7 separate regions of the Homo sapiens genome follow, and regions 1, 3, 4, 5, 6 and 7 are each linked to region 2. Evidence: promoter capture Hi-C in 16 types of primary human blood cells and fetal thymus (Javierre and others, 2016). All regions are on one chromosome and are shown on one strand. The core of a region is centred on a gene start or on the middle of the fragment in contact, and the rest is flanking DNA. Distances in the headings are between cores, read along the strand shown.

Region 1 (2,918 bases), core at 417-2,916, 480 kb before region 2:
ATTCTAATTTTTAACACCTTTATTGAGATGTAATTAACATATTTGTAGTTCATTTGTTTAAAGTGTAAATTCAATGGTTTTCAGTATATTCACAGAGTTGGACAATCACCACCATAATTTTAGAACATTTTCATTACTTCACAAAGAAAACCTGTATCCATTGGCAGTAACTTCTCAATATCTCCCAGCCCGCTAAAGCACCTGGAAGCCACTGATATTTCTCAGAGGACAGGCATAAACATAAAAGGAGATACAGGGAACAGAATCTCATCCAGGCTCTTGTTCCTCGGATGCCCTGAGTCAGCTCTTCAGGGGTCCAGCCTGGGAGAGGCTGTAACTGGCTAAAGCCTCATCCCCTTTCTATTTCCAGAGATTTGCCTACTCTACACATTTCATATAAATAACATCATACAATATGCAGTCTTTTGTGACTGGCTTCTTTCACGTAGTGTAATGTTTTCAAGGTTCACACTCAATGTATCTGTTTAAACTAAATGAATAAATGACTGGGTAACTCTGTCTAGTGCAACCCTGAATCAGAACTCTGAATAACTAGATTCCTGGCTGACCCTCTACTTCCTGGTAGGAAAGGAGTTCCCTCTGCATAGGAGCCCCAAGAAATGATGTCTACTTCCCAAGACAGGTTTCAAATAATCTAAGTGTCTGGTGGAGTTAAGCTCTCTGAGGGTAAGGGCTCTATATGGGCAATTAATGACACATAAGACCGGGGCAAGTATCCAATACATGGCATTAGTTTTTCTATTAAACATATATTTATTAAGGGTCTATCAGGCACAAAATGTCATACTTAGCTCTTTCTTGCTTCTCACTTTATATTACAAACAGCTCAGTGAGATAGGTATATCTCACTGATAGGTTTATAATGGGCATTATATGTGAGAACTGATACTCACAGTGAGTATCATAGTAATACTCTAGCAATTATTGATAATTGTTACAGCAACTTTCAGAGATTACCCAGTTATCATATGCAAGTTTTCTGATTCCAGTAGCACATTCAATACAAGTCCTCTGACTGAAGGAAATGTTTAGATTTTAGAGGGAATTGTTTATTCTCAATCATTCTCCTTGCTTTAGGTGACAGAATCAACTCAGATTTAATCCACCGAATCTGCTTGCCATGGTGAGTCGGAGGAAAAGCAGAAACACAGAGGCCAGGAGGAAGGGCTGAGAGCCTAGGCAAGGGAGGGATGCCTAGAAAAAGCCAAGGCTGTAGAAGCCCTCTGGGATGGCTGGATCCACAGCAGGACATGGAAGAGAAACTGCTCAGGGTGGAGGGAGTCATAATGGAACATTTCCACAAGGTCAGGGAAAGCTGTGGCTCAGAACTGATGTTTCCTCAGAGGACATGCATTAAAAAAATGCAGGGAACAGAATCTTGTCCAGGTGTGGGTCCCTTGGGTACCCTAAGTTAACTCTTTAGGGTTCCCACCTGGTGGAGGCTCTGACTGGCTACAGCCTCTCTAGACTGCAGCCCCAGAGAGGAGTCCTGGAAGCTCCTGAGGCCTCTTTGGATTGCAGGGACTAAGAGGCAGGAGAATGTCAGGAATGACCCAGCGTGTGCCTGGTTGTGCAAGAGCCACCTCCTGCTCTTTCCAGAGCCAAGCCTGGGCCCTATAAAAGACACATCCAGCTTCAGCATCTCATCTGCTCTGACTCCCCAGGGACGTGTCTGTGCTCCTGCGTGTGACCAGGGTGAGTGGCAACCTGGGATACCAGAGGGGTATGAGCAAGGCAGAGGGATGGGGAGGATGGAGGTAGGCTGGAGAAAGAGTTGTGTGCTTGTGTTCTGCCATACTGAGCAGGAATGGGACTCAGCCTGCCTCGAATCTGTTGAGGCTCTGAGGCCTACCGGAGCTCATATAGGTGGGGAAAGCTAACTGTGCACATCTTTTCCAATTCTGTGTTCAGTGACTTCATGTTGGTAACTTCAAAACTGCTGTGTTGGGCATATTTACACCATGGAAACTGGCAAATACTTCAAGCCAGGCTCTTTTATCTGGAGGTTTCATTGCAAAATATTTTCCAGAGGACCCCTTGGTATGTCCTGCAACACCCAGCTTGTCCTTAGGGCTTGTATTAAAGGAATAGGTACTTCAGGGAGCTGTGAATACTCTATTCGGGCTTGTGAGGATAGAGCAATCGCAGTTTCCCCTGAAAGGAAGAGTAAGAAGCTCATTCTGTTGATTTTTTATCTACGTACTTTTATCTAGAGGAAAGATTCAAGTTGTTTCTTTCAGGTTACTGATGTGATTGTATTATCTAAATATCATTCTTCTTCTACACATGCATTGATTTTAGAAGAGGTATAATATGATCCTTGGTTTGAAATATTTAAAGAGTTTCATTATTATCTTTCAGGTTGACTAAACTCCTGCCAGCATGTCTTGCCAGCAAAACCAGCAGCAGTGCCAGCCCCCTCCCAAGTGTCCTCCCAAGTGTACCCCAAAATGTCCACCTAAGTGTCCCCCCAAATGCCCACCACAGTGCCCAGCTCCATGTTTCCCTGCAGTCTCTTCTTGCTGTGGTCCCAGCTCTGGGAGCTGCTGTGGTCCCAGCTCTGGGGGCTGCTGCAGCTCTGGGGCTGGTGGCTGCTCCCTGAGCCACCACAGGCCCCGTCTCTTCCACCGGCGCCGGCACCAGAGCCCCGACTGCTGTGAGAGTGAACCTTCTGGGGGCTCTGGCTGCTGCCACAGCTCTGGGGGCTGCTGCTGACCTGGGCTACAGAAGAGCTCTTGGGACTGAATGGCCAAGAACCTGCTACGGCCTGATGGATACTCTTTCCACTTCCTCTCATTCCATTCATTGGTTGGCAGAGACCACAAAGACTCATGGGGCTTTCCTGGAAGAACTTCGTGCTTGATGTAACACCCCAATTGCAAGTCTTCTTTTCCTCC
Region 2 (3,124 bases), core at 611-3,110:
TTGAGCCAAAAGTCACTTCAAAGGGTCTTTCTAAATAATTTTCTTTAAATATAGCCCATGTATTACTATAATTTGTCCTGTGTGTGGGAGGTGTGTGGGGGTCGGGGGGTGGGGGTGATATGTAACTCTCTTAAGACTGTAGACTCTATAAGAGCAAGGACTTTGTTTGGTCATCATTATCCCTATCAGCAGTGCATAGAAGACTGGCTGGCACATGATAGACAATTAGGAAACATTTGTGAATAAATCAATTGCTATGAGTACACTCAGCTGAATACATGCTCTCTTACTTTTTACAGATGATGAAACTGAAGCTAAGAGAGTTTAGGTAATTTTTTCAGCCATACAAGCTAGAAGGGGTAAAAATGAGTTTTAAACCAATAAAAGAGAATTATTTGTTGTACCGAATCCAAAACACACATTGCACGCAACACTGAATTCAGTGATGGAAAAGCCTAATAATTCTAATAATTCAATAGGAATGAAAAGGAACATTCACTTGGTGTAGTTAACAGAAGAGGTTAAAGACACGAAATGCAAACAAAAGCAATGTGGGCTTGACCATGAAACATGTGCTTTATTGGGGAGAAGCAAAAGAATAAACACACTTGCTCTCAGGATAGGAACCACCATCTACATCACAGACAGCAAAGCGAGATTAGGCAGTGATCTGGCTGCTCATCTTCCAACAACATATCGGTTTTCAGAACTAAGCCTTTTCTCTGTCAACGCTCAAGCCAGACAGAGGTTAGGGAAGATGCAGCCTCCCACTACAGCTGAAGGGAAGATGATGGAGTCCTGGGAGTAAGAAGAGCCACTGGATCTTGTTGTTTCATGGTCCTGATGAATTCTAGTGATGTTACTTGCTCTTGGGTGGATACTTCTGCTGGCAGGGTGGGTATGGTTGCACAGGAGGGCATTTATCCTGGCATGGTGGAGGTGGGCAATGCTCAGGTGGACAAGGAGGAGGCAGGTAAGGCTCAGGGCACTTCGGGGGTGGACATGGCTCTGGGCACTTTGGCGTGGGGCACACAGGAGGTGGCTGGCAGGGCTGCTTGCACTGCTGCTGCTGGTAAGACATCTCTCCTCAGTCTCAGAGAATCTGAAAGATACATACGAAACAGTGCTCATAAGAGAGACAGTCCTGTTGGTGGAGCAATTAGCTAGGACATCAAATCTCCAGTATCTAGGGACCAACTTTGATCCCTAATACAGTCTTTATGACTTTGTGAACCTTCTTCACACTTCACTTTTAGGACCTCTTACCCTCAGTTCTTCCGTCTTTCTGGCTGTTCTCTCATTCTACCATTTTCTGAAAATAAAATTGCCTATGAGACAGCAACAAATGTTGTCTGAATACAAACACTATCTGAAGAAGAAAAACTCAGATATTAAAAGTCTAGCCAATACCAAACAAATCTGTGCTCTTATCTTCCATGAGGCCCTAGTTACCAGTTTTAATGAGCTGGCTGTGGTGCTGAGCCATGAGTTTTTTAAGAGAATTGCAAAAACTTGCACCCATCACCCAAGGAGATTGCACTCCAAGAGAGATGTATTTGGAACAGATGTGAAGCAGGAGACAGAACAGCATCTTGTGTCTCTCACTCTCCTTCAGTTTAAGATTTTATATATTTGACTCCAGGTTCCTCATCACCTTCATGTTTATCTACCAAATACCAGCTAAAATTTACCTTCAAGACCTCATTATCTTCTTTTTCCTATCCATGAGGATAAATTGGTTAAAATAAACAGGCATTTCTGTACCCAGGTTAGACCCTAACACCATCCAAGTGCAAGAAAAGCTTCTAATATTTGTACTCACCAGAGTCTTCAAAGATCTACAACTGAATGGCAAGAAGATAGCATCAGTGTGGTGGAGAGTCCTTTTATAAGGGGCAGGCAGCCCTACACAGGGAACAGCCCAGGACTAGCATGATGTGCTTATTTCCCAACCAAAATACCACTTGCATGTAATCCATGCTGGTATCACAAAATTCCTAGTCCATGATCCTCCCCAGCAGGATAAGTGCACAGTGATTCACTTGGGACATTATCTCAGGTTCCTCATGCCAGTGGCAATTGTAGAACGTGACAAATTGTCTGACAATTGTGGTGCTTCCCTATAATTAGAGATGGTGCTTCTCCTACTTCCCAGCTTCCAAAGTATCCTGTATGTAAAACTACTCCCATTCAGTTGCACATGCCCAGTATCTAGCTGTGTTCTCTTTAGTAGAGACCAGTATGTGCTGATCCTGCAGCCTGGCTATATCCTAACCCTCAACTGCAGTTTTTCTTTACAACTAACTTCCCCTTTTATCATGGCCTATTGATCCTTAGGCTTTTCTTGACAATTAATTGACTTGAACAGGGTGACAAAATCATATATCAGCTTCCTAGATGCTGACAGCCCCAACCTGGGTGTGTTCTGACATGGTATTAATGGGCTTGAACAAGGCAACATCATCTCTCAGTTTTCTAGGCCATTAGAGTCATGTTGGGGCCCCTTCTTAAAGCTTCACATTTGCAGATTTACACACTAACCTCATCTCTGTGGCCCTTGTAACTATGAGTGACTTGTGGTCTACTAGAAATCCAAACTCATCTTCTCCCATTTTCTTCCAAACTGCCTTAATGTATGTGCTGCATCCATTTTGAAGCTTTTCTCCTACATGCTAATTCAATTTACTCCTTCACAATTTCTCTCTTTTGAAATGACATTTAGTAGGATTTCAGGCTTTCTTTGCACATTCGAGGAGTGAAGTTCTGTAAAGCTATTTATCCTGCTGTTTACTTCATGGATGTTTTTACCTAAATAAGTAAAGTATAGCTGGCACAGATCCCACGGATAATTTCTTAGTATAGCTTATTTAACCATATTAACACTTCAGCTAGTATTACTCACTGTCCCAACTTGGAAAAAACTTGAGTACCTTGGTTATGCATACATCTACAGCCACCACTACTGTGTGGAACTAAATATTTCCTAACCTCCTTGAAACACAGTTTACACAGCTGTAAAACAGAAATAAAAAATACACCTACCACAAAAGTCTCCTACAAAAACTCAAAGAGTGGCCTAAAATTATGCACATTACATAGTGGGTCTTCTAAGAAATATAAACTC
Region 3 (3,236 bases), core at 82-2,581, 390 kb before region 2:
TTTCAGCATGAGGTTTGGAAGGGATAAACACGCAAACTATAGCAATGCCCTATCTAAGGTGGGCAGCTGCTAATCAGGATAATGGAAGGTATGTTCAACTATGCTAGATCTTTTTATTTCAGAAGAAAATCTGAATTTCTGGAATCTTTAATAAAATCTGCCTATTTTTAAATACTAACAATTAATGACAGTATTATGAGGGAAAACATAAAGAGCTGTCCATTTTGACTCTATGTGGCTCACAGAGTACCAGATTATTATTTCTGCCCTGCACTGTGCTGCCTTTAAGGGCTACTCCACAGCACTACCTGCCTGGTGCTGCCTTCAAATACTGCTCTGCAGCATTGACTGAGCACCTGTTGTGCAGGCATCCACTTGCTCAGCTCAGGATGGGGAGGCAGCAGGCACCCATGACTCAGCAGTGCCTGTGGCTTATGGCCAGCATTTACCCTGAGTGGATTTGGGATAGTTTAAACATCATTCTTGGATGAATTTTTTTTTATTATACTTTAAGTTTTAGGGTACATATGCACAACGTGCAGGTTTGTTACATATGTATACACGTGCCATGTTGGTGTGCTGCACCCATTAACTCGTCATTTAGCATTAAGTATATCTCCTAATGCTATCCCTCCCCCCTCCCCCCACCCCACAACCGTCCCCAGTGTGTGATGTTCCCCTTCCTGTGTCCGTGTGTTCTCATTGTTCAATTCCCACCTATGAGTGAGAACACGCGGTGTTTGGTTTTTTGCCTTAATCCTCACAACAATCAGGAAGGAAGATTTAATTATCTCTCTTTTGCAGAAGAGTAATTTGATACTCAGATTGTTTATAAAGGTTGCATAGCTATAAGTACACGGCCTGGGATGTTAGACTCACCTTTGGCCCCATGGGCTCATCCTTCTATAGAGTTGCCTCTATCTTTGAAGTAACTTAAATTACTTCAGGTTAGAAAACACTTCCTCTTTTATGTCACTCTGGTAAGAATCTGAAGCAAAGTGGAAGTTGGCAGATACAATCATCTTTTAGGAGAGAAGATACCTTTGTCACTCCTCATCTCCCGACCATCAGGTCTTCTAGGGATGGAGGAGAAACTGTTAGGGCAATGAAGGAGGAAGAAAATAAGAATCTGCTATTCATAGTCCTGAGGCTTCAACACTAAGACAAGCCACTCCCACACTCTGTAGGTGACGGCAAGGGCAGGCACACAGGGAGGGAACCAGCTGCTGGAATGCCAGCCCGGTTGATGCACCAGGCGGATGCCAACCAGCTGTCTCATGGCCCAAGCCAGACCCAGAACCCTTTATATAAAGACAGCCCTCTTCCCAGATGCCTCAGCCTGAAGGACTGCTTGCCTGTGAGGAGGGTGAGTCTAGGAACTGGATCCTGGGATCGGGGTGGATGTGATGTTCAGGGGAGAGCCCAGGTTCACAGTCGTGAGGCACAAAGAAGGGAGAAGCTAGGCACCAGGGAGGGCGAGGGGTGCATTAACCTGAGGAGAAAAGTCTGGTGAGCTTTTAGGAGACAGAAGCATAGCTACAGAGTTTACGAGATGAGCTAGGGCTGTGAAGCTAGTGTATTTGCCTTTGATAACCCTGACCTTATCCTCAGGTACTATTTTCCCTCATGATCTTTCTGGAAAAGCCACATTAGCAATTTACACCTTATGAGCAAAGTTGTGTGTGGAAGGGTTACCTTCCCCAGGGAAATAGATATGTAGGTATTCTCTACAAATTGAAAATAGAAGGTTTGAACCCTCATCAGGAGCATTTGGGGAGCTTATTGAAAGACGGTTTGTTGGATGAGCCTGTTGTCAAATGATCTTGTTTTGCTGGTCAGTGGGCTGCCTGCACATAAACACGTGCATCTGACACAAGCAGACGAGTGAGGCTGCCCTGTGCTCTCCCCAGCTAAGCATGGTGTCAGGGTGTATGCCTGCAGCCCTCACGTTATGTTTGCAATGCCCCAGCTGCGTAGATCTTTAAGTATGGCAGAATGTCCGTCTTCTGATTAAGAACCTTGGACTTTCTGGCTTACTCCATCTTAGGTAACTCCACCTTGCCTCTAAGAAGAGCTGGGGAAAAACATTTCTGAGGCCTGCAGACTGTCACACTTCAGGTGATTAGCAACAGCAACCTGACTGGGCAAGTTGCCATGGTGGTCAGAGTCTTTCCAAGGCTGGTGTGTTTTGCATGGGCACACTTTGCACGTGTCATGTTTAAATGAATTTATTTCAAAACATTGTGTCATGTTTAAATGAATTTATTTCAAAACATTGTATCATGTTTAAATGAATTTATCTAAAAACATTGAATATAGAGAAACAAACATTTAATGTTGGGTTTGAGCTGCCCGCTTTCCAGTGAATGCTTTGACATTTTGTGAATGCAGATGGTGCTGAGTGCTTATTCTCATATGTACGTTCTTACATGTTTGCACATTTATGTGTACTGCCAGTGCACATGTGTGAGTAAATCCAAGCTCCTGTGGGAATGGAGTTTCCACTTTGGGCTATAGCCTTAGGAGCAAGTTGTTATCTCTACTTCCTGTAGGGCTGCTCAGACCACATTGGATGTGAGAAAGTGTGGAGACGAAAGGAGAATCCTTTTGTCATCAGTGCCCTCTTTTCTGGGCATTGGTAGGTCCACCCCCAGGGAGATCCTGGACATCTGCAACCCTGGATGTGCCCTTTGACAGACCCAGGGCAGGTCTAACAGATTAATCCTGGGTCGAACTAAGTCAGGACACTTGGATGAAAGTTGAGGGTGGAGGAAGAAAAGCTAGGGAAGATGCAGGGTGTCTTCCTCTAGGTCCTGGCACCCCCTCTCCAACTCTCACCCTCCTGACCCTGGTCTCTTTGCCCTCAGGTCACTCTTGACTGGCTGCATCAGGACCATGTGTGACCAGCAGCAGATCCAGTGCCGCCTGCCGCTCCAACAGTGCTGCGTCAAGGGTCCCTCCTTCTGCTCCTCTCAATCCCCCTTTGCCCAGAGCCAAGTGGTGGTTCAAGCCCCTTGTGAGATGCAAATTGTGGACTGCCCTGCATCATGCCCAGTTCAAGTTTGCCAGGTGTCAGACCAGGCTCCATGCCAGTCTCAGACCACACAGGTGAAGTGCCAGTCTAAGACCAAGCAGGTGAAGGGCCAGGCTCAATGTCAGTCTAAGACCACCCAGGTGAAGGGCCAGGCTGCATCCCAATCTCAAACTTCCTCTGTTCAAAGCCAGGCTCCATGCCA
Region 4 (3,205 bases), core at 416-2,915, 500 kb before region 2:
CTCTAAAAGTCTCTTTTAGAGGTGCTCCATTCTCTATTTATTTATTACCTATTTTCAGACAAGGTCCCTACCCTCCACAAGCTTTCAGGCCAAATGTAAAATAGATTTAAAAAATGAACAAAGTGTTTGGTTAAATGGACATTCATTTAGCACACCAGATGAGGTCTGTGGACATCAGTCTGGAATTTGGGATTTGGATGTGAATCAGACACAACCTCTAACCTTGAGAAGCTCACAGTCCACTAGAATCTCTGAAGCACTTCTTTGCATGAGAAAAGCCCATGAGGTCCAAAGCAGGTGGCTCTGAATTTCATCTCCTGAATCACTACTTTGCAATGAGATATGTGAGATACTTTCATTAGTCCAAATTTTTCTTTGGTGTTGTCAGCCTGAGTTTCCTCATTCTCTGTGAAGAGATGTTTGTAGCAACCATGATGGAGTGAGAGGCAGGACTGAAGTGTATGGGCATTTACATGTGGTGTGTGTGTGTGTGCATCCATCATCCATGCATGTACACACACACACACACACACACACACACACTTATATACTTAATTGGCGGTGGGTACAAAAGCACAAAAAAGCCAATTCCCCTGGTTTTTGGTGGCAGGGGATAGAGAAGCACTTCATTACACTCACCGGTGTCCAAGTATTTAGTGTGCCTTCTCACTGTTCCATGTACTGAAATGCATATGAAACAGCATACTATTTCACAAAGTTGTCCCTACTCCATAAGATTTCTTACTAGTATTTTAAAACATTATAAGATATGTGTGTTTATTTCTATAATTCTGATCCTATCAGAATGTGAGAGCTGCTGAGTAAAGAAACCCTGTTTTCATCCTCTTGGGTCCCCGTAAAGTGGTTGTTCAAATAAATAAATAATTATGTTAGATGGATGAGTAAATAATGATGAATGCCAGGGTGATGATTTCAGAAGTTTATCTCCAAGTCCCTTTAGACTGGGAATCAATAACCTCCAAGGTGGTATCTCTAAATGTCTCCAGAACCTCTTCATTCATCAGAAGGTCTTGCTAGGACCTCAAATCTACACCCCTCCCAATATTTGTTCTCTTTCCACCATATGATTATTTCTCTGGTCAAGACATTTGATATCTGGTCAAGACATTTGGTATAATCTTTGATCTATCCCTTTTCCCCATCACATATACACAAAGGGACATCCAGTCTTGTAGATTCTTTTGAAAAAACTCTCTTAAAGTTTTCTATCCTCTCTTTCCTATTTGTCTCATCTAAGCCCCACCTCACAAAGCTTGGCAAGAAAGATGTGACCACCTATTTCATGAGAAGGGACTGGCACGCAGCGACCCAGGCCTTAGAGCCTCAGCCCAGTGACCAGGTTCTTGGGATCTCAGGCTATCTGAGGCTTATATTTGGGAAAGGGTGTGGCTCGTTGAAGGCCCACAGGTCTTGGGCCCCATTGAGAGGCTGGAGTGCTCCTACAGCTCTTTTGGAAGGAGAATGTCAGGAATGGCCCTAAGTGTTCCTTGGTTGTGAGAGATTTTCTCCTGCTCTTTCCAGAGACAAGGCTCATTTCTGAGCCCAGCCTGGGGACTCCTCCTATGAAAGGTGTCCCTGGTTCTTCTTCTTCCTCCTTTTGGACACCTCTGCAGCCTGAGCTAATTCTGAGACTCATCCTGGTAAGTGTGTCTGTGCAAAACCAAAGGACATCTCTGGATTTGGCAGTTTTGTGGTTTTCAGATGTTTACTCTAAGCATTCTTGTACATGTCTTCTAGGAGCAGAATTGCTGAATCTTGGTGTATTTAGTAGCTAAGAATTTAAATTTATAATGGAGAGCTAATCTGTTTTTCAAAATGATTGAATTTTTATGCCCAATATCCTTAAATAAATTTGAAACGATCTACTCCTTTATAGTTTTGTACTGTTCGCCTAGAAAACAATTTTGGCCATTGTTTTCTATGTTTCTTAATAGTACTTTAGTTTCTCAACTAGTTATAAGAGAATTCATACTTTTTGTCTCTTCTTGAGCTTATTTTACTAGATTATACTTTTTAATGTATGTTTTCCATTTTGTCTAAGCTTTCAACGTTGGCAGTGTATAGTTATTGACAGTCTTTCATTTTTATATTTTGTTCTCTGCTTTATTATTGTTATGAAGATACATAACTTTTTAATTTATAATATTTGATGATAACTTCTCTTTTTTTAACCTAGATTAGTCTTGCCAGGGTGGGTTTTCTGGGTATTTGTTGTTGTTGCTGTTTGTTTGTTTGCCTATTCTGGAATTGGGACTCCTCTATTTAAAAATATTTCTCATCCTTAAGGATGAGAGTTCTTGCCAAGTTTTCCTTTCAACTATTTTCAGATCCCAGGGTATGGTGGTCAGGGAGCTACCATGGAGGATTAAGTCCCCTCTTGAGTAAAGCCAGGGAAACATAGAGAAACCCTGCTCCTGTGAAGAACTCAGGAAAATGGTTGGGAATTAAATTAGTTTGAGTTTCACATCCTCATCCTTCTTTCTCCGACCCCCTAGAAGGTGGTAGACTACAATCTAAAAGGTAGGTAATATTTTTTGCCAGGGAGGGGGAAGGAGAAGTATCGAGGTAAAGTCCTCACCTGATGAGCTGGTTTCCTGATGCTTGGACTATAAAGTGGGGCCTTGACCTCACTGGGGGCTTGACAGAGACACTGGAGCCTTTCCCTCGTAATTATTTCCAGTCAGAATCTCTAATACTCCCCAGCAGAATATGAATTCACAGGCCTAAATGATAAAAACATAAAGTCACAAGCATTTAAAAAGATTCCACTAACATCAGAGGTATTAGAAATAATTCACCATTGTTTAAAATGAATACATAAGATTCTTTGATGTTCTATGAAGTAAATTCTTAATTCATCAGCACTTTTTGCCCCTGACCAATACTTTTTTAAAAAAAGTATTATAAATATACTGAATATGAAAAGAAGTTGAATCAAAAGACAAGAAAAAAGAAATTGAATCAAAATACAAAACTCCTTATGAGATATCCAAGGAATAATAAATACAACTAAATGTACAGTAAGGGACACACAAGTTAGAAAATATAAAAGAATAACAACAACAAAAACCCCTAAAGGATAAGACAGAAGGTAATGAATATAGAAGACAGACAATGGAGATCTAACTTACATATAATTTGTATACCTGAAGAAGGAAAGAAAGACAATGAATTAGAATAAATA
Region 5 (2,915 bases), core at 265-2,764, 430 kb before region 2:
GGTCTTGTGTCATATTGGGCCAGAGACCACTGGGCCAAACTGTGCTCAGCAACCTAGACCAGCAGAAGTTACCTTGGAAGCCCACAGAACACTCATTTAGGCTGAGTGAAGTGAGGTGAATCTATAGTTAAATTCTCAATTTTTCATACACTGTGCCAAAAGCTACACTTAGCTTTAGATTAGATTCTCAATTTTAGTTTGATTCTCTGAGCTACACTTAGCTTTTGGCACAGTGTATGAAAAATTGAGAATCTAACTATAACTTGGATAAGTCCTGAAGACTCAAGTGACCTGGAAACAGCTTCATTAGAGACAGATCACATAGGCATCACTCATAACTTATAGGAAAAGGAGACTGACTTGTTTCCTGAGGAAGGGAACAGGAATCATTTATCTAGTGTTTGGGAAAACCCAATGTCAAGCACAGACATGCCCTGCCTCTGACTGAGGAGCCAGGCATACTGGGGAGGAATCTTGCCAATGCAACACCATCCCTTCTCCTTGTGATCTCTGGTGCTTCATTTAGATGCCATTAAATTGCCTCATTGCTGCCCTATAAAAGGTCTCCCCACCTGCTAGTTTTTCAGATCACTGACTTCTTCCAGTCTTGCTCCTATCAGCAAAGAGGGTAAGTCTCTATACGGGATAAGGACATGGTGAGAAACAGAGCTTTGGGGAAGCTGGGGTGGGATGAGAGCTGTGGGATGAAGGGTGAGCGAGGACTAGATGCTTAGGAAATCTGCTGAAGGAGGCTGAAAGCAATGCTGGTGGGAAACTTGGAGCCTGGGGCATGAGAGGAGAGGGAGGGGGACACGATGAGCTGGCATTCCTGTTTAAGAAGGGACTTTAGAGAACTGGCTCCCCATCCCCTTATCTGAATGCAATTGTGCAGTCCTCTCTTGGGTCTATGTGCTAATGAGGCCAACTGATTAGTCCAGCTGGTTCAAGGAGCACCTGGTAGAAACCTGCTCAAATTTAGCCTTGTTCTTTGCTCAGTACCGGGCACAGCTTGAGGCTCATGTTGGCTCAGGGTCCATGGACATAAATTTGTCTTTGCTGGGTATTCCTTGTCTGGGCAGAAGGAAGAAGGGAAGTCACCCTGGAGAGAACTGGTGGCAGGGGTCAATCATCTGGGAGCAGCAATTTCCAAAGGGTAATTCACAATGCAGACACTGAAGAAAGAGGAGAGGAGGCTTGGAGAGTTGGGTAGAAACACAGGCAGCACCATTTCAAGCCTCCATTTCCCAATATAGAGACTGAGGCCCAGAGGTAAGCGATGACTTGTACCAAGCCACATAGCCAGGTACAGGCACAGAAGCTGAGCTGAGAGTCCCTGGCTCTGAATCCACCTCCTGCCAAGTATACAGCCTCTGGATGTCTGCAACCTTCTCAAGAAAGCCTTGCTTGCAAATCACTGTATTCAAAGGGGATGTTGAAGGTTTCCCCTAGAAACCTTCCTGGTTTTACAGTTCTAATGAAACCTTTCTTTTCAGATTTTGCAAAGCCACAGAACAATGTGTGACCAGCAGAAGCAGCCACAGTTCCCTCCATCTTGTGTGAAAGGTTCGGGACTAGGGGCTGGGCAGGGTAGCAATGGTGCCTCTGTGAAATGCCCAGTTCCATGCCAGACCCAAACTGTCTGTGTGACAGGCCCTGCTCCATGCCCTACTCAAACTTATGTGAAGTACCAAGTTCCATGCCAGACTCAAACCTACGTGAAGTGCCCAGCTCCCTGCCAGAGGACCTATGTGAAATACCCAACACCCTGCCAAACCTATGTGAAGTGCCCAGCTCCCTGCCAGACAACCTATGTAAAATGCCCAACTCCCTGCCAAACCTACGTGAAGTGCCCAGCTCCCTGCCAGATGACCTACATCAAAAGTCCAGCTCCCTGCCAGACCCAGACGTGCTATGTCCAGGGTGCTTCTCCTTGCCAGAGCTATTATGTTCAAGCTCCTGCAAGTGGCTCAACCTCCCAGTACTGTGTCACTGACCCATGCTCTGCTCCCTGTTCCACCAGCTACTGCTGTCTGGCTCCCCGGACCTTCGGGGTGAGTCCCCTGAGACGCTGGATTCAGCGGCCCCAGAACTGCAACACAGGATCATCTGGCTGCTGTGAGAATTCGGGAAGCTCTGGATGCTGTGGTTCTGGGGGCTGTGGCTGCAGCTGTGGATGTGGCAGCTCTGGGTGCTGCTGTTTGGGAATTATCCCCATGAGGTCCCGAGGTCCTGCATGCTGTGACCATGAGGATGACTGCTGCTGCTAAACATACGACAGCTCAACTCCAGAATGCACTGCCCCGCTACCCCTTCTGGAACATGCACCAGCTTCTGGCCCCCTCTCTGTTAGTGCCAGTGATGTAGAACCTCATCACTTTGCCTCTGTGCTTTGCTTCTCTACCAAGGCAGCCTGCCAGAGTTAGTACAGTCCCCAAACTTTGGCATGAATAAAGCTCTGAATGCATTTCGTGGTAATTTCTGTCTGTTTGTTTGGTCCATATTTATGCTTTTCTATCAGGCACTCTTCTGCATCCCTCTCTTCTTACTCTTGTTTCTCAGCTAGAGGAAAGATCTGCACGAACATGAACAAGCAGACTGAGCTGGTGAAATCCCAGCCTGGGAGCCCCATGCCTTCTAGAATGCTGTGAATAAACTTTCCCACGCAAGTTAGAAGCATCTGAAAATGGAGATTTGAGGGTTGGGGCTGTTTCTGTGCTGCCCTTTGATGAGCCTCAGAGCAGGGTTGACCATGATGAGACCCTCATCTTCCTGGGTGTTGGAGAGATTGTGAAATTGTATCTGCTCATGGACCAGTATCACTGGTCATGGTCAGTATCACTGGACCATGTCTCCACCACTGTGCAGAGGGCTTGAACCCATGCAGGACTTTATGAATTACATTTTCTCATCTGACA
Region 6 (2,958 bases), core at 387-2,886, 450 kb before region 2:
CCCATCCCATTCTCTTCCTTCATGGTTACTATCATCTTTGTCAAGGAGAATGAGGAACCTAGCATGACATTCCCTCAGGCATTATCAGGTGATCCAGTGTCCCAACAATCTCATTGGAAAATAGACTCATTTGGTATGCACATAAATTTCACAGAGGTCTTCAGAATATCCACTGAATTGTGAATTCCTAGAGGTCACAAAACACACACAGTGTTTGCCTCTATAAACCTAAGTGTTTGGATAGAAAATCACTGAATACCTAGGAGCTGACAAAGCAGTATCTTCTTGATTAACTGCTATGTTTGGATATCAACATTTTTCACTCTTGACCTGAACACTCTCAAGGGTAGGGAACTACATCTGAGACTAGAAAAGAAAACTATTGGAGATGGGGCATCTCTTAGTATGACAGAAATGTAAAGACCATATACTCCTACCTTCTAGACCAAGGGTATATGAAAGAAGGGACTATCTTTTTCAAAAGCTGTATTCTAACTTATGCCATACAGTAGGTTTTCAGTAAATGTTGGATGGATGGATGAAATAAATTGATTAATGGATGAATGTATCTAATCCAAAATTGTATCAGATTCCTTACTCTCCTGTCATTCACTAAGAAGATTAAATAAATCATTTGATTCCCATCACCTTCTTGACAAGAAATAATTAGACTTCTCAAAATCCTGAATGTACACTGTACATTCCTAAGAGAGCCTTCGCTAGCCTACCTATATTTTTAAATAAAATTTTCAAAGACAGGGACTGAATATTGTCCATTTTTCTGTCTCACACACTGCCCTCGTTCTTTTAAAAAATGACATTGTTTAAGTGTCTTCCTTGTGCCTTATCATGTGCAAAAGCCTCACTTGATGGAACCAACAATTCAGAGAGGAAGGTGCTAATAGGCCTGTTTTACAGTTGAGGATTTAGATTGTCTATATATAGTCTTTGAGGTCACTGGGCTCATAAACACAGAGCTCTTCTGATTCCAATTCAAAAAACTATTGGCTTATTTTAAAAACTGCCTTGTTACACAGTAGACATTTTAATTTCTAAGTGAAGAAGTTTAGTCACAATGATCATCACCACCAAATCTGAGGAAACCATCTTGATTCACTTATTAATCCTCCTAGCAGGGTTCTGCAGGCCACACAGCAACATGGGGTCAGGAATGAGGGCTGAGCAGAAGGGGAGGAGTGTATCCTAGGAAGGAAATGGTCTCTGACTCAATGCCACAAAGAAACCTGCCTAGCTGTGGAAGCAGGGCTTGGAAAACTATACTTGGGGATGGGAAGAAGCTGGAATAGCATACTTCCACAGGAAAGCTATGGCAAGGATCTCTGGTGTTCTCAGAAGTCACTCTTTGAGCCTTTGTCCAGGCACAAGCTCCTTAAGAATCCCCTGGCAGCTCCACGGGGACCAGCCTGGGGGGGGCTGTGACTGGTTAAAGCTCCTTTAGACCCCCTTCCCAGAGGGAGGTCTTGGGAGCTCCCAGTGCTTCCTTGGATTGTAGGGACAAGGAGGCAGGGGAATGTGAGGAATGACCCAGCACGTGCCTGGTTGTGCAAGAGCCACTTCCCGCTCTTCCCAGAGCCAAGCCTGAGCCTATAAAAGACATATTCAGCTCCAGCACCTCATCTGCTCTGACTTCCCCAGGACGTGTCTGTGCTCCTGTGTGTGACCAGGGTGAGTGGCAACCTGGGAGCCAGAGGGCACAGGGGAATGGGAAGATTAAGGGAGGCTTCAGAGAGTTATTTCTTTGATTCTGTGCTATTATATGCAGAAAAGAGATACAGTCTGACTTGAGTTTCTGGAAATCTTGCCTTGGGCTGTGAGAAATGTGTATCTGACAGTTTCATCAAGGGCTTATTCTTATATTTCAAAAATGGATACTTTGTTGGGTATGAATACTTTATTCAAGCTCATGAAGATTAGAAAATACTGCCTATCTTCTAAAAGAATAAGAAGCTTCTTATTATATCTGATTTTCAAGTATATATTTTCATTCAGCAGGATTTGTTTTCTTTCACTTGTTGATATATATGTGTGTATGTGTATATATATACACACACTGAGTATTATTCACCATCACCATATGATTTAGTTTTAAAAGAGATAAAATTGCCATCCTTGGTTTTTCACAGCTAAAGGGTTTGACTATTTCGAATTTCAGGTTGAAAAAGTCGCACTGAGATGTCCTGCCAGCAAAACCAGCAGCAGTGCCAGCCCCCTCCCAAGTGCCCCCCAAAATGCCCACCCAAGTGTCCTCCAAAGTGCCGACCTCAGTGCCCAGCCCCATGCCCACCTCCAGTCTCTTCCTGCTGTGGTCCCAGCTCTGGGGGCTGCTGCGGCTCCAGCTCTGGGGGCTGCTGCAGCTCTGGGGGTGGCGGCTGCTGCCTGAGCCACCACAGGCCCCGTCTCTTCCACCGGCACCGGCACCAGAGCCCCGATTGTTGTGAGTGTGAACCTTCTGGGGGCTCTGGCTGCTGCCACAGCTCTGGGGACTGCTGCTGACCAGACCTCGAACATCACAGAGCAACCCTTATGGAGAAACTTGCAACCAGGACCTGTCCCAGAGTGATGCTTCTCCTGCCCCTTTTTCTCCTTTCCTTGGGCTGACACACCTTGTGAGGTGTTTTGTCTGTTGTCATGGCCCAAGAGCCCATCCTGGATCCTGATCTTACCTTCCCACTTTACCTCATACAACAATAAAGCTCTTTTGCCTCTTCGTGAAGTACCCTGGCCATTGTCAATTCTTCTATTCTTTTCAAATCCCTTAAAGTCCAGTGCCCCAGCCGTACACTTTTAAGGATGCTTTGGTAGGAGTGGAGTGTGAGAAAGAGGTATGCTGGAAGCAGTCTCCAGAGGGTCAATCCTGAAAGAGCAGCCTCACAGTAGGGCTTCTCAATGGGACTGCCTGTGTGCACTTGGAGACTGTGAGATGTGGACCCTCTCAGC
Region 7 (2,967 bases), core at 6-2,505, 350 kb before region 2:
AGTGACTAGTGTGTCCTAGAATGAACAGCAGCCCATTTCATTAATATCCTAAAAATGTATAAATTCAGAACACTCCATTCATATAAATCCTGTGGACATGTAGAAAGCTAGTGATTCTAGTGGAGAGAGAGGAGAGGGGCTTCCAAAGTAGCAGCATAAACACATTCACATTAAATATTAAGGACTCTTGTTCTTAAAAGGCACCCGTCCCCTTATGGTCCAGGACGGGGTTCTGCCAGCCATTTGACCCCACATGGAAGCGTAGACTTATAATGTCTCACAACCATGTCTCTTTTCTTCCTGTTTCTCATCTGTGACCATCATCCGGTGCTCCCAGTGTGAACCCAGAAAAGTCCAAATTCTCACACCAATACAAAGAGCAGAGCTGCTGCTTCTTGTTTCTCTAATGAGCTGCTTCCTTGTTCACATCTCAGTGCTGACACATCAAGGACCCCACCAGAAGAAAAGGGCTATTTAAAAGCAAACAGATCACCAAACAGCCAGACTCACTCTCATTAGAAAAAAGCTGTGCTTCGTTTGTTAAACAAAGATCAGTATCTTCATTCTGTATTCAGCAAGTTATGAATGTTTCACTTATTCAGAGCCTACAATGTTTCAGTCTCTCTGTCAGGCACATTTTCTCTTTTTTGTGTTACTTTATTGACTTTCACAACCAACTAATTCTTCTGTAACTAATTCTTTTTCATCTTCCAGCTTTATGGTTTAAAAAATGGTACAGGCTAAATAGTTTCAACAGTCCCATCTCGCAGGGCCTGGTCCTGGGCCGGGTTATACTTCCAGGGTTTTACTTGTGTAGATGTCTACACTGCACCCACAGCCACACAGTTTGGTGGTGCACAGGGACAGAAATAAACATGCATGGAAACCTCAGGGATTAGTACTTCAACTTCAACCCAGGCTGCACGGAGCATCAGGTACTTCGGAAGAGACAGAAATGAGATAGGTCCTAAGTTCTAAGACTGAGAACTGAGAGGCTCTCAGGGCAAGCAGCCTTCAAGTGAATGAGGTAGGTGATGGTAGGAGTCATCCTGGAACCCCGTTTCAAGTAGGCACTTTCCTACCTGGGAGTGGCTGCCTTGAGCCTGGGGAGAGAGGCAGGTGAGGAGCTGTCAGTCACCAACCATCACAAGACCCACGTGGGTGTCAGAAGGAAGGTCCTCTCATGCCCAGGCCCTGTCTCACAGCTGGGGCAGAGCCCAGGCCAGGATAAAAGGGCTCAGGGCCAGACCACCCCATCCACTCACCTCCTGAGGTGCTAAAGAACCCTGTGCTGCCTGTGACTCCGGTAAGAACAGAGCAGGGATGCTCAGAACAGAGCAGGAGGGAAGGAGGGGCAGGGCCTCCGGGGCTAGGGCCATGTTGTCAGAGGTGGAGAGTTTAGAAAAGACTGAAGGGGCGGGGGCCAAAAGGGGTCTGGCACTAACTGGGAGCAGGAAGGAAAAGAGGAAAAGAGCTGGCGGGCTGTGCCATGTGCCTTTGAACTCTAGAGGAAACAAACTGCTCTGGGATGAGGTGGGTGTTCCAGAGTGGGAACTTTGAAGCACAGAGACCTGCTCCACTCTGGCAGCCCACAGGAGGGAAGCCCACCTCTGAAGATACAACCCTGTCTCTGCCTGCAAGGGAAGAACTGGAGCTGTGGACATGGGACTAAAGACTCTTTGGGGTTTATGAACCCCACATTTTCATGGGTCTGAGATTTGTTCACAAACTTCCCAGCTTGGTTAGGACACACCAAGCCTGAGACCCACCGTGTCATCCCATCAGCCTGAGCAGGTGGTGAGTGAGGAAGTCTGAGCTCCAACCTGAGATCAGGGGGTCAGGGTTCAAGTACTAGTCTGCAGAAACTGCTAAGTTTATCTGTCTCTATTGAAGTGAGTTTACTGACCTAGTAGTCTCCAAGATCCTGCACAATGCTGACCTTCCAAAGTAAAATCGTCTTGCAAATTATGACCAGAGAGAATGACTGCTTCTTCTCCTTTAAAAATAATTTTCTCTTAAATGACTCATAAATTAGACAATTTCAGTCTTAAGATATATTTGTAATAATTTCTTCCTCCACTGACAACACATCAGAATCTTAGATGCATTTTGCAATATTGTTTAGTCTTAGTTTACAGTTGTCTGACATCCAAAGATATCTTGAAAAAGATGATGTGAGATTTTGAGGAAATTATTGGAAATAAAACTACTGAAGATGATGCTTTTAAACTTGAGAGGTGCTAAGAGTGTCACAGGGGCAGAGGTGGCCTCTGCCTGGGTCTGACTTGTTATTTGACTCTCCCTCAGCTCCTGAACACCCACCACCGAGATGTCCTGCCAGCAGAGCCAGCAGCAGTGCCAGCCCCCTCCCAAGTGCACTCCCAAGTGCACTCCCAAGTGCCCCGCCCCTAAATGTCCCCCTAAGTGCCCTCCAGTCTCTTCCTGCTGCAGTGTCAGCTCCGGAGGCTGCTGTGGCTCCAGCTCTGGGGGCGGCTGTGGCTCCAACTCTGGGGGCTGCTGCAGCTCTGGGGGTGGTGGCTGCTGCCTGAGCCACCACAGGCGCCACAGGTCCCACCGTCGCAGACCCCAGAGCTCTGACTGCTGCAGCCAGCCCTCGGGGGGCTCCAGCTGCTGCGGTGGGGGCAGCAGCCAGCACTCTGGAGGCTGCTGCTGAAGTGGACCTTGACTTCCTCTTCCTTCTGATTCTGCCTGAATAGCTGAGAGGTTCCAGCAAAAGCTTGAAGTCTTGCCTGGAGAATCCCTCTGCTCTGGTGTCAGGAAACCCAAAATCTTTCTCCTTAATGGCATTTAGAGACTTTCTTCTGCAGATCCATGGCTGCCCTGGGAACTCCAAAGCACACACCTACTTCCTCCCCAGCTCACGCTACTGTATTCTGTGCTGCCTGAACTGAAGAAATAAAATCCAGAATCTGCTCCCCAATTTGCTACCAGCCTGCTTGATTTTCC

The links. Contacts are between HindIII fragments. The CHiCAGO score rates a contact against its expected background, and 5 or more counts as called.
Region 1: the fragment with the promoter of LCE2C here is called in contact with the fragment with the promoter of SPRR2G in region 2 in 16 of 17 cell types (M2 macrophages, M1 macrophages, M0 macrophages and 13 more); the score reaches 24.3 in M2 macrophages.
Region 3: the fragment with the promoter of KPRP here is called in contact with the fragment with the promoter of SPRR2G in region 2 in 4 of 17 cell types (M0 macrophages, M2 macrophages, erythroblasts and 1 more); the score reaches 8.0 in M0 macrophages.
Region 4: a contact is called between a fragment that was not itself captured here and the fragment with the promoter of SPRR2G in region 2, in 1 of 17 cell types (M0 macrophages). The highest score is 5.3, in M0 macrophages.
Region 5: a contact is called between the fragment with the promoter of KPLCE here and the fragment with the promoter of SPRR2G in region 2, in 6 of 17 cell types (M0 macrophages, M1 macrophages, endothelial precursors and 3 more). The highest score is 12.1, in M0 macrophages.
Region 6: the fragment with the promoter of LCE2A here is called in contact with the fragment with the promoter of SPRR2G in region 2 in 4 of 17 cell types (M1 macrophages, M2 macrophages, endothelial precursors and 1 more); the score reaches 8.8 in M1 macrophages.
Region 7: a contact is called between the fragment with the promoter of LCE1D here and the fragment with the promoter of SPRR2G in region 2, in 7 of 17 cell types (endothelial precursors, M2 macrophages, fetal thymus and 4 more). The highest score is 22.3, in endothelial precursors.

What each region holds. Positions count from the first base shown.
Region 1 is chr1:152,673,613-152,676,530 of GRCh38, forward strand. LCE2C (late cornified envelope 2C) reads left to right here and starts at 1,667. Exons shown (of 2, transcript NM_178429.5): 1 at 1,667-1,716; 2 at 2,383-2,918. The coding sequence starts at 2,404. The coding sequence ends at 2,736. The HindIII fragment of the contact is 8,836 bases long and covers 1-2,918 here.
Region 2 is chr1:153,149,030-153,152,153 of GRCh38, forward strand. SPRR2G (small proline rich protein 2G) reads right to left here and starts at 1,861. Exons shown (of 2, transcript NM_001014291.4): 1 at 1,823-1,861; 2 at 553-1,102. The coding sequence starts at 1,081. The coding sequence ends at 860. The HindIII fragment of the contact is 711 bases long and covers 1,801-2,511 here.
Region 3 is chr1:152,756,694-152,759,929 of GRCh38, forward strand. KPRP (keratinocyte proline rich protein) reads left to right here and starts at 1,332. Exons shown (of 2, transcript NM_001025231.3): 1 at 1,332-1,366; 2 at 2,868-3,236. The coding sequence starts at 2,896. The HindIII fragment of the contact is 4,639 bases long and covers 1-3,236 here.
Region 4 is chr1:152,646,532-152,649,736 of GRCh38, forward strand. No RefSeq gene overlaps it. Among named protein-coding and RNA genes, the nearest start is that of LINC00302, 7.3 kb to the right of the region's middle. The HindIII fragment of the contact is 789 bases long and covers 1,272-2,060 here.
Region 5 is chr1:152,718,008-152,720,922 of GRCh38, forward strand. KPLCE (KPRP N-terminal and LCE C-terminal like protein) reads left to right here and starts at 1,515. Exons shown (of 1, transcript NM_001024679.3): 1 at 1,515-2,463. The coding sequence starts at 1,515. The coding sequence ends at 2,267. The HindIII fragment of the contact is 5,275 bases long and covers 1-2,915 here.
Region 6 is chr1:152,696,709-152,699,666 of GRCh38, forward strand. It overlaps LCE2A (late cornified envelope 2A), which reads left to right and starts at 1,637. Exons shown (of 2, transcript NM_178428.4): 1 at 1,637-1,686; 2 at 2,174-2,734. The coding sequence starts at 2,194. The coding sequence ends at 2,514. The HindIII fragment of the contact is 4,015 bases long and covers 1-1,966 here.
Region 7 is chr1:152,795,466-152,798,432 of GRCh38, forward strand. LCE1D (late cornified envelope 1D) reads left to right here and starts at 1,256. Exons shown (of 2, transcript NM_178352.3): 1 at 1,256-1,306; 2 at 2,308-2,716. The coding sequence starts at 2,330. The coding sequence ends at 2,674. The HindIII fragment of the contact is 8,213 bases long and covers 1-2,735 here.